Regions from separate parts of the Homo sapiens genome. Here regions 1 and 2 are each linked to region 3. The links are contacts of gene promoters, found by promoter capture Hi-C in blood cells and fetal thymus (Javierre and others, 2016). All regions are on one chromosome and are shown on one strand. Each heading gives the region's core, a stretch centred on a gene start or on the middle of the fragment in contact. The rest is flanking DNA. Distances are from core to core; before and after follow the strand shown. Region 1 has its middle 9.3 kb from the start of SRRM1. Region 2 overlaps CLIC4 (chloride intracellular channel 4). Region 3 holds the start of GRHL3 (grainyhead like transcription factor 3).

Evidence for each region. Contacts are between HindIII fragments. The CHiCAGO score rates a contact against its expected background, and 5 or more counts as called.
Region 1: a contact is called between a fragment that was not itself captured here and the fragment with the promoter of GRHL3 in region 3, in 2 of 17 cell types (non-activated CD4 T cells and naive CD4 T cells). The highest score is 6.1, in non-activated CD4 T cells.
Region 2: a contact is called between a fragment that was not itself captured here and the fragment with the promoter of GRHL3 in region 3, in 1 of 17 cell types (naive CD8 T cells). The highest score is 5.4, in naive CD8 T cells.

Annotation. Positions count from the first base shown.
Region 1 is chr1:24,632,497-24,635,592 of GRCh38, reverse strand. No RefSeq gene overlaps it. Among named protein-coding and RNA genes, the nearest start is that of SRRM1, 9.3 kb to the left of the region's middle. The HindIII fragment of the contact is 3,320 bases long and covers 22-3,096 here.
Region 2 is chr1:24,815,257-24,818,186 of GRCh38, reverse strand. All of the region lies in intron 3 of CLIC4 (chloride intracellular channel 4), which reads right to left. Among named protein-coding and RNA genes, the nearest start is that of CLIC4, 71 kb to the right of the region's middle. The HindIII fragment of the contact is 5,114 bases long and covers 1-2,930 here.
Region 3 is chr1:24,317,721-24,320,748 of GRCh38, reverse strand. GRHL3 (grainyhead like transcription factor 3) reads right to left here and starts at 1,392. Exons shown (of 16, transcript NM_198173.3): 1 at 1,181-1,392. The coding sequence starts at 1,197. All of the region lies in intron 1 of GRHL3-AS1 (GRHL3 antisense RNA 1), which reads left to right. The HindIII fragment of the contact is 12,430 bases long and covers 1-2,407 here.

The DNA of each region.
Region 1 (3,096 bases), core at 432-2,931, 310 kb before region 3:
TTGGCAAGAGAAATAAAAGCTTAGTTGAATTTATCATTAATATATAAAGCTGCCAAACTATAAGATTTCTAGTTGGGTTTGCATATACAGATATCAAATAGATGAGACATGGAAGTAGCAATCTGAGATTTCCTGAATCTCACAGTTTTCTAGTCTGATAACAAGAGTCACTAGATGGCGTTCTACTCTCTCAGTATAATGTGCCTCTAATCGGGCAGGACTTGTTCCAAGACTAACTCAACTATCACAAGAGCATGTAGTTTGATTGGTTGTTTTTTACTGAGCCCTTCCTATATGCTTAGCATGGTGTTCTTAGATAGTAAGGGGCACAAAGGAAGTGTAAGTTAGTCCTTGGAGAGTTCATAATATTACCAGAAGAATAACAGCAACAGGCATCAGAGAAAAACGTAACATCTTTGCTTGTCATCCCATGGAAAGACCTCCACAGATGTTATATTCAAGTATTATGTTTGCTTTTTTTTTTTTTTTTTGGAGACAGAGTCTCGCTCTGTCACACAGGCTGGAGTGCAGTGGTGCGATATCAGCTCACTGCAACCTCCGCCTCCCGGGTTCAAGCAATTCTCCTGCCACAGCCTCCCGAGCAAAGCTGGGATTACAGGCATGCGGCATTATGCCAGGCTAATTTTTGTATTTTTATTAGAGATGGGGTTTCACCATGTTGGCCAGGCTGGTCTTGAACTCCTGACCTCAAGTGATATTCCCGTCTTGGCCTCCCAAAGTGCTGGGATTACAGACGTAAGCCACCGTGCCTGGCTGCATTTTTTTTCTTTTCTTTTTTTTTTTTAGATGGAGTCTCACTCTGTTGCCCAGGCTGGAGTGCAGTGGCATGATCTCGGCTCACTGCAACCTCCGGCTCCCGGGTTCAAGCAATTCTCTGACTTCAGCCTCCTAAGTAGTTGGGATTACAGGCATGTGCCAACACACTTGGCTAATTTTTGTATTTTTAGTAGAGATGGAGTTTTACCATGTTTGCTAGGCTGATCTCGAACTTTTGACCTTAAGTGATCCGCCCGCCTCAGCCTCCCAAACTGCCGAGATTACAGACGTGAGCCACTGTGCCCGGCCATGTTTGCATATATATATATTTTAGGTGGAGTCTTGCTCTGTCGCCAGGCTGGAGTGCAGTGGCACGATCTCGGCTCACTGCAACCTCTGCCTCCCAGGTTCAAGCAATTCTCCTGCCTCAGCCTCCCAAGTAGCTGGGACTACAGGCACACCACCACGGCTGGCTAATTTTTGTTATTTTTAGTAGAGACGGGGTTTCACCATGTTGGCCAGGATAGTCTCATCTCTCGACCTCGTGATCTGCCCATCTCGGCCTCCCAAAGTGCTGGGATTACAGGTGTGAGCAACCGCGCCCAGCCCATGTTTGCATATTTTTAAAACAAGAGCTGGAAGAATAAGAGCAGCACCCATCAGATGGGAAATGAAGAACCATGGTTGGAATTCCCTGTACCTGTCTATGTTCTCTCTGTATTTAGATGGCAGTACTTTTCTTTTATATGGGATTTCATAATAATAATTACCATTTTGGGGGGGTCATATTATGTCAGGCTTTGTGTTAATGCTTTAAACACTTTAGCTAATTCAGTCTTCACAATAATATCTAGCAGATTGTTACAGGCTGAATTGTCTCCCCCTCCCAACCCCTGGCCGAATTGTCTCCCCCTCTCAACCCCTGCCCTGTCCCTTCACCATCTCCAAATTCATATTGAGGTCCTAACCTCCAGTACCTTGGAATGTGACTGTATTTGGAGATAGCGTCCTTAAAAAGGTAATTAAGTTAGAATGAGACCATTAGGTGGGTCCTTATCCAATATAATTGGAGTCCTTATAAGAAGGGGAAATTGGCTGGGCACAGTGACTCATGCCTGTAATCCCAGCACTTTGGGAGGCCGAGGTGAGCGGATCACTTGAGGTCAGGGGTTCGAGACCAGCCTGGCCAACATGGTGAAACCCCATCTCTACTAAAAACACAAAAATCAGCTGGGCGTAGTGGCAGGTGCCTGTCGTCCCCGCTACTTGGGAGGCTGCGGCAGGAGAATTGTTGAACCTAGGAGGCGGAGGTTGCAGTGAGCCAAGATCGTGCCACTGCACTCCAGCCTGGGTGACAGAGCAAGACCTATCTCAAAAATAAATAAATAAATAAAGAAGAAGAGGAAATTAAGATACAGACGCACACACAGAGGGAAGACCAAATTAAGACATAAGGAGCAGACGGCCACCTATAAGCCAAGGAGAGATGCTTCAGAAGAAAACAACCCTGCTGACACTTGATCTTGGACTTCCAGCCTCCAGAACAGTGATAAAATACACTTCTGTTGCTTAAGCCACCCAGTGTGTGATACTTTGTTATGGCAGCCCTAGCAAGCTAATACATCGGTATTATTCCTGTTTTACAGATGAGTACAGTAAGGCGTGAGAAAAAGTGAGTTGTGTAAAATCACACAGGCAACATACAACAGAACTTACTTTCAGGGTTTGGTCCATCTGCTTAGGGTTAAGACCACATTACCAGTTGCTTGACATTCATGTAGGTGTTAAAGCAAATGGCTGGAGGAGGGAATATAGACAGATCTTATCTTTCTGGTGAATGAGCAAACAAGCCTTTCTTCATCTGGCCAGTGACTGCCTCCCAGCTGGTTCCCAAATCCACAAGGTGAGAGGAAGGGAAAGCCAGTGAGGCCTGTGCCAATTTTCTTCACCTTCAGGCCCAGCAACACTTGGACAGCAGGGGTCATAGTGGTCAGTGATTAAAAATCATCCTTGACTTCATTTAAAAATAATCAATAGCTCTTGTTGCTCTAAGTGGCCTTTCTTTTTTCTCTTTACCTCCCACACCCAAATTCCCTAGCTAGGCAGGGTCCTTAACACATTGTCTTGTAAATGTAGGGCTGGCTAGAGACCATTCAGCATATATGATAAACAAGACTTCTCTTTTGACCCTGGAGAATTGTAGTCCAGTTACCCATGGGCAATAGATAAAGACCCTTAGGCTGGATAGGTATGAAGATGAAGTCTATGAGTCCATGAATTATTGAAGTCCAAGTTCCAGCCCATGAGGGTTGCTTACAT
Region 2 (2,930 bases), core at 115-2,614, 500 kb before region 3:
ACAAATTGAAGGTTTATGGCACCCTGAGTCAAGCAAGATGGCGCCATTTTTCCCAGCAGCATGTGCTCACTTCATGTCTCTGTCACACTGTGGTATTTTTCGCAATATTTCAAAACTTTTCATTATTATTGTATCTGTTATGATGATCTGTGATTAGTGATCTCTGATGTTACTCTTGTAATTGTTTTGGGGGCACCACAAACCACACCCATATAAGACAGCACACTTAACTGATTAATATCATATGTGTTCTGACTGCTCCAGTGATTGCTGTTCCCCTGTCTTTCCCTCTCCTCAGGCCTTCCTGCTCCCTGAGACAAAATAATGTTGAAATTAGCCCACAGTTGATGACCCTACAATGACCTCTCAGTGTTCAGGTGAAGGGAAGAGTCACATATCTCTCACTTTAAATCAAAAGCTAGAAATGATTCTGCTTAGTGAGGAAAGCATGTCGAAAGCTGAGACAGGCCAAAAGCTGAGATAGGCTGAAAGCTAGACTTCTTCCACCAAACAGCCAAACAGCATATACAGAAGAAAAGTTCTTGAAGGAAATTTAATAGTGCTATTCCAGTGAACACACAAATGATAGAGAAAAACAGCTTTATTGCCAATAGGGAGAAAGTTTGAGTGGTCCAGATAATCAAACCAGCCACAGCATTCCCTTAAGCCAAAACCTAATCCAGATCAAGGCCCTAACTCACTTCAGTTCTATCAAGGCAGAGAGAGGTGACAAATCTACAGAAGAAAGTTTGAAGGTAGCAGAGGTTGGTTCGTGAGGTTTAAGGAAAGAGGCCATCTTTGTAACATAAAAGTAAAACATGAAGCAGCAAATGCTTATGCAGAAGCTGCATGCAGCCAGTTATCTAGAAGATCTAGCTGATCTATCTAGAAGATCTAGCTGATCTATCTAGAAGATCTAGCTGATCTATCTAGATCTTCCTTCATCACCTTCATCTGATGATCTATCTAGAAAATCTGATCTACCTTCAACAATGATCTATCTAGAATTGATCTTCTAGATAGATCATTGATGAAGGTGGCTACACTAAACAGATTTTTAATGCAGACAAAACCTTCTATTGAAAGATGTCATCTATGATTTTCATAGCTACAGAGAAAAAGTCAACGTCTGGTTTCAAATCTTCAAAGGACAGGCTGACTCTGTTAAGAGTCTAATCCAGCTGTTGACATTAGGTTGAAACCCATGCTCATCTTCCATTCCAAAATTTGAAGAACCCTTAAGAATTATACTGAAGCTACTCTACAGATGCTCTATAAATGGAACAATAAAGCCTGGATAATGGCACATCCATCTGTTCACAGTATGGTTTACTAAATATTTTAAGCCCACTGTTGAGACCCACTGCCCAGGAAAAAAAGATTCCTTTCTAAATATTACTGCTCATTGACAATGCACTAGTCCCCCCAGAACTCTGATAGAGATATACAGGGAGATCATGGTTGTTTTCATGCCTGCTAACACAACATCCATTCTGCAGTCCATAAATTTTGACTTTCAAGTCTTATTATTTAATAAACACATTTCATAAGGCCATAGAAAGTGATTCCTCTGATGGATCTGAGCAAAGCAAAGTGACCTGGAAAAGATTTACCTTTCTAGATGCAATTAAGAACATTCAGCCAGGTCTGGTGGCTCATACCACACCTGTAATCCCAGCACTTTGGGAGGCCGAGACGGGCGGATCATCTGAGGTCAGGAGTTCAAGACCAGCCTGGCCAAAATGGCAAAACCCCAACTCTACTAAAAAATACAAAAAAATTAGCTGGTCATGGCGGCAGGCACCTGTAATCCCAGCTACTCAGGAGGCTGAAGCAGGAGAATTGCTTGAACCTGGGAGGTGGAGGTTGCAGTGAGCCGAGATCGCATCACTGCACTCCAGCCTGGGCGATAAGAACGAAAACTCCGTCCAAAAAAAAAAAAAAAAAAAAAACACGAACATTCATGATTCATGGGAGGAGGTCAAAATAGCAACATTAACAGGAGTTTGGAGGAAGTGGATTCTAACCCTCATGGACGACATTCACAGGTTCAAGACATCAGTGGAGGGAGGAACTACATATGTGTTGAAAATAGCAAGAGAACTAGAATTAGAACTGGAGCCTGAAAATGTAATCAAATTGTTCTACCTTCATAATAAAATTTGAATGGATGAGGAGTTGCTTCTTATGATGAGCAAAGAAAATGGTTTCTTGAGATAGAATGTATACCTAGTGAAGATGCTAAGAACATTGTTGAAATGACAACAAGGAATTTAGAATATTACATCGACTTAGTTGTTAAAACAGCAGGAGGGTTTCAGAAGATGGATTCTAATTTTGAAAAAGGTTCTACTGTGGGTAAAAACACTATCAAACAGGGGTGCATGTTCTCAGGACCTCTTGAGATTAGCCTCAGGCAAAGAATATTTACTTTAAAATTTTTAAATGCTATCAAACACTATTGCATGTTACAGAGAAATCTTTCATGAAAGGAAGAGTCCATCAATGTAGAAAAATTCATTGTTATCTTACTTCAAGAAATTGCCACAGCCACCCCAACCAGCAATCACCATTCTGATCGGTCAGTAGCCAGCTACATCAAGGCAAGACCCTCCATCGGCAAAAAGATTGACTCGCTGAAGGCTCAGATAACCATTAGCATTTTTTAGCAATGATTTTTTTTTGAGACGGAGTTTTGCTTTTGTCACCCAGGCTGGAGTGCAGTGGCACGATCTTGGCTCACTACAACCTCTGCCTCCCTGGTTCAAGCAATTCTCCTGCCTCAGCCTCCCGAGTAGCTGGGATTACAGGTGCCTGCCACCACGCCCAGCTAATTTTTTTTGTATTTTTTAGTAGAGACGGGGTTTCTTCATGTTGGTCAGACTGGTCTCGAACTCCCAACCTCAGGTGATCCATCCGCCTCAGCCTCC
Region 3 (3,028 bases), core at 143-2,642:
TTCAAAAGAAATGTGCCTGTTAACCCAAGTGATTGTGCTGTGAACATGAAGAGCTGAAGGGCTAGCTAGAACATAGAATCCGGTCTGCAGTCAGGACCTAGCACTGCTGTCTGCCCACAGATCTTCAAGTTCTTAAAAGTCTGTTGAGGAGCAGTTAGAAAAAAGATGGTACAATCCTTGCCTCTGCCCACTCACCTCTGAGGGTGGCAGGAAAAGGAGAGCCTGTGTTTAAAGGATTCTGGCTTCTCCTGCCAGCTCCCTGAACCCAATCTAAAGCAGCCCAGATCCCAGCCTCACCCTACCTTCTCTAAGGTCTGGACCCCAAGAAGGACATCATGGTGAAGATCAGCATCAGTCAGTCAGGATCTTAAATCTCAGATGTGGGCAGGAAGGCACATGCATCCTCCCAGCCAAAAGAGGTGACCTACCAAAAATCACTTCTCATCTTCCCCAGCCTTAGAACTGCCTCTGAATGAGAGGAACCACATTTTACTGAACGCATCTTCAGACCATAGCTTTATGCTAAGCATTTTACAGCATTTATCACACTTAACTCTTTCCAGAATTCTACAAAGCATTCTTGTACCCATTTTCCAGATGAGGAAAATGAAGCCCAGAAAAATTGAATGTCTTGTCTGAGATCACCCAGGGACAGAGCCTGGATTTGAACTTAGGTCAAGCCCACTACAAAGAGTACACATGCTTAACCACCACACTGTAACCTTCCCACTTGGGACTGTTCCAACCCAGCAAACAAGTCCCTTTAGAGAAACCCAACTCTCTGCCTAAGACAGCTCTTAGAACTACCTTAAAGAAGTTCCTTTTGGCAAGAAGATAGAAAGCCTCGATGGGATTGGGGTCGTCTGATTTCCAAGGCCCCTTCAGAGGATCAAAAAGTGGTGCCAGAAACCTTCACAGTTTCAGTCTTGTGTTTCCCTGCCTGGCTCGAAACTGCTCAGCAAAGAGAATGAGAAAAACTATTTTCCCAGGGAAACACTCACCTCTAGCTTGAGACTGGGGCTTGCCTTGACACGCCAAAGTAAGATCGTCAGCCCATTCATTTACCCTTACAAATTGCTCTGTGAATCCCGGTGCCGGCCTCCCCGCTCTTCCCCCTCCAGGAAACCCCATCCAGCCTCCACGCTCTGAGAGCGGCAGGTATCCACCGATGTTTACTCACTCAAGTTCATTCGACATCTTCCTGCTCCCAAGCTCCGACGATCAGCACTGAGGCTCTGCTGACCGCTTGTCTCTAATTCTTGCCTGACACAGACATTCTCTGCCCGGGAAAGTGTTTGATTTATGTTGAGGTTTGGGTGTCGAGATTTTGCTGACAGGTAGGTTCCCAGCAGCGCTGGCGCTGATTGGCTACAGGTACAGGTGCCGGCGACTGGAGGTATACCTCAACAGGTGCAGCTGTTAACTCTTAGCCCGCCGAGGAGGGCGGAGCTATGGGGGACTGGCTGGGTGGAGCTGGCCAATTCCTTCCTTGGTGAGGGGGTGGGGGGTGGAGATGAGGGAGGAGGGATGGAGAAGAAAATGTTGGAAAGAAGCAAGATAACTAGAGGAAAAGTACAGGGACAAACAGATAACTTGGCTTAAAGGAAAACTTGATTCCTGTTTCTAGTCATTGTCCCAGATACCCAGAAACATCCCCACCCCCAAATTTCTTTGCCCCCTCCTTCTGTACCACTGGGGAATTCTCAAAGGAGAGAGCAACTTTTCCCAGGTAGATCTTTGTATAAGTTCCCTTTTTTTCAGTTTCCCCTTTAAGGTAATATTTTTGAATAATCTTTTGCAGTTACTCAAGTGACTTCTTTTGGTTCTTAAAGTAACCTACCGTGGTAGATTTATTATCGCTTCCCCCTTCCTCTTCAACACATATTTTACAGATGAGGGAGGAAATGGAGGCCAGAGAGGCAAAGTGCCTTGCCCAAGGGCACAGCTAGCGAGGTCCCAGCCCAGATCCAATCTGCAGTCATCTCACTCCAAGTCTGGCTGCCCCTTGGGCTGAAGTCAGTGGCCTCAATTCAGTAGACATTCATTGAGCACCCGTTGTGTGCCAGACCCTACTCTGGGTTCTGGAGAAACTGAGGCCAGAAAAAACAGGGGTTACTGTTCTAAAGGAGTTTACAATCTGGGGGGTGTGTGTTGGTGGCAGGGGGTGGGGGAGTAAAGGAGAACAGGCTTTTATTGGGTGTGAAGGGGGTGTGGGCAAGCCACATACCTCTGGTCAGCACAGAAGGGATAGAAAAGTTGAAGGCTCCTCTGAAGCCTCAGCCAGCTGGTCATTTCACAGGCTCCAAGTGCTTCGTTCTGTATTGGGAACTTGGGAGAAATTCAATGCCTGTCAGATGAAGTAATTGTGGAGTAATTGCTGTGAGCTGTCTACTATAAAGAACAAGCTTGGTAAACCCCAGAATATCCACAAACACAAACAGGAGAATGTAAGAGCTTTTTAAAGAGCTTCTTCCAGGATTAGTTTGAAATTAAATCTAAGCCAGAGATCTTGGCATCTTTTTTTCCCTCTCTCTCTTTCTATTCTCCCCTCCCCCACCCTTCCCCTTTTGGCAAATTATCTCTTTGCTGTGTCTTCCTGGAAACCTCAACTTGGCCCACTCCTCTCTCTCTTCTCTGGGAACGGCAAGTGAGGTTTCAGCTACCCCTGCCAATTTATGGAGGTTTTTCAGGGTAAAGTCAGAATTCAAAGGAGCCCTCTTGGGGTGGGGTCAGGGCTCTGGAGAGGGGGTACTGGGTTTGAGAACTCTCAGAGATTGGTTTCTCCCTGGAGGCTGTGTTGGGGGAAGCCCAGGGGACCCTAATAAATAATAGTAAATAATTGCTAATAAAGCCACCTCCTCAGAGCAGCCCTCTTCAGTCACCCTTGTTAATAAAGTAGACATTCAATCACTCTGGATCACACTACTTTTTGTTCTCTGCAGAGCCCTTATGACTTATGATACAATGTAATATGACCTATGATATTTTTCTAATCGTTTATTGTCTTTCTCCCCTTCCTCTGGAATGT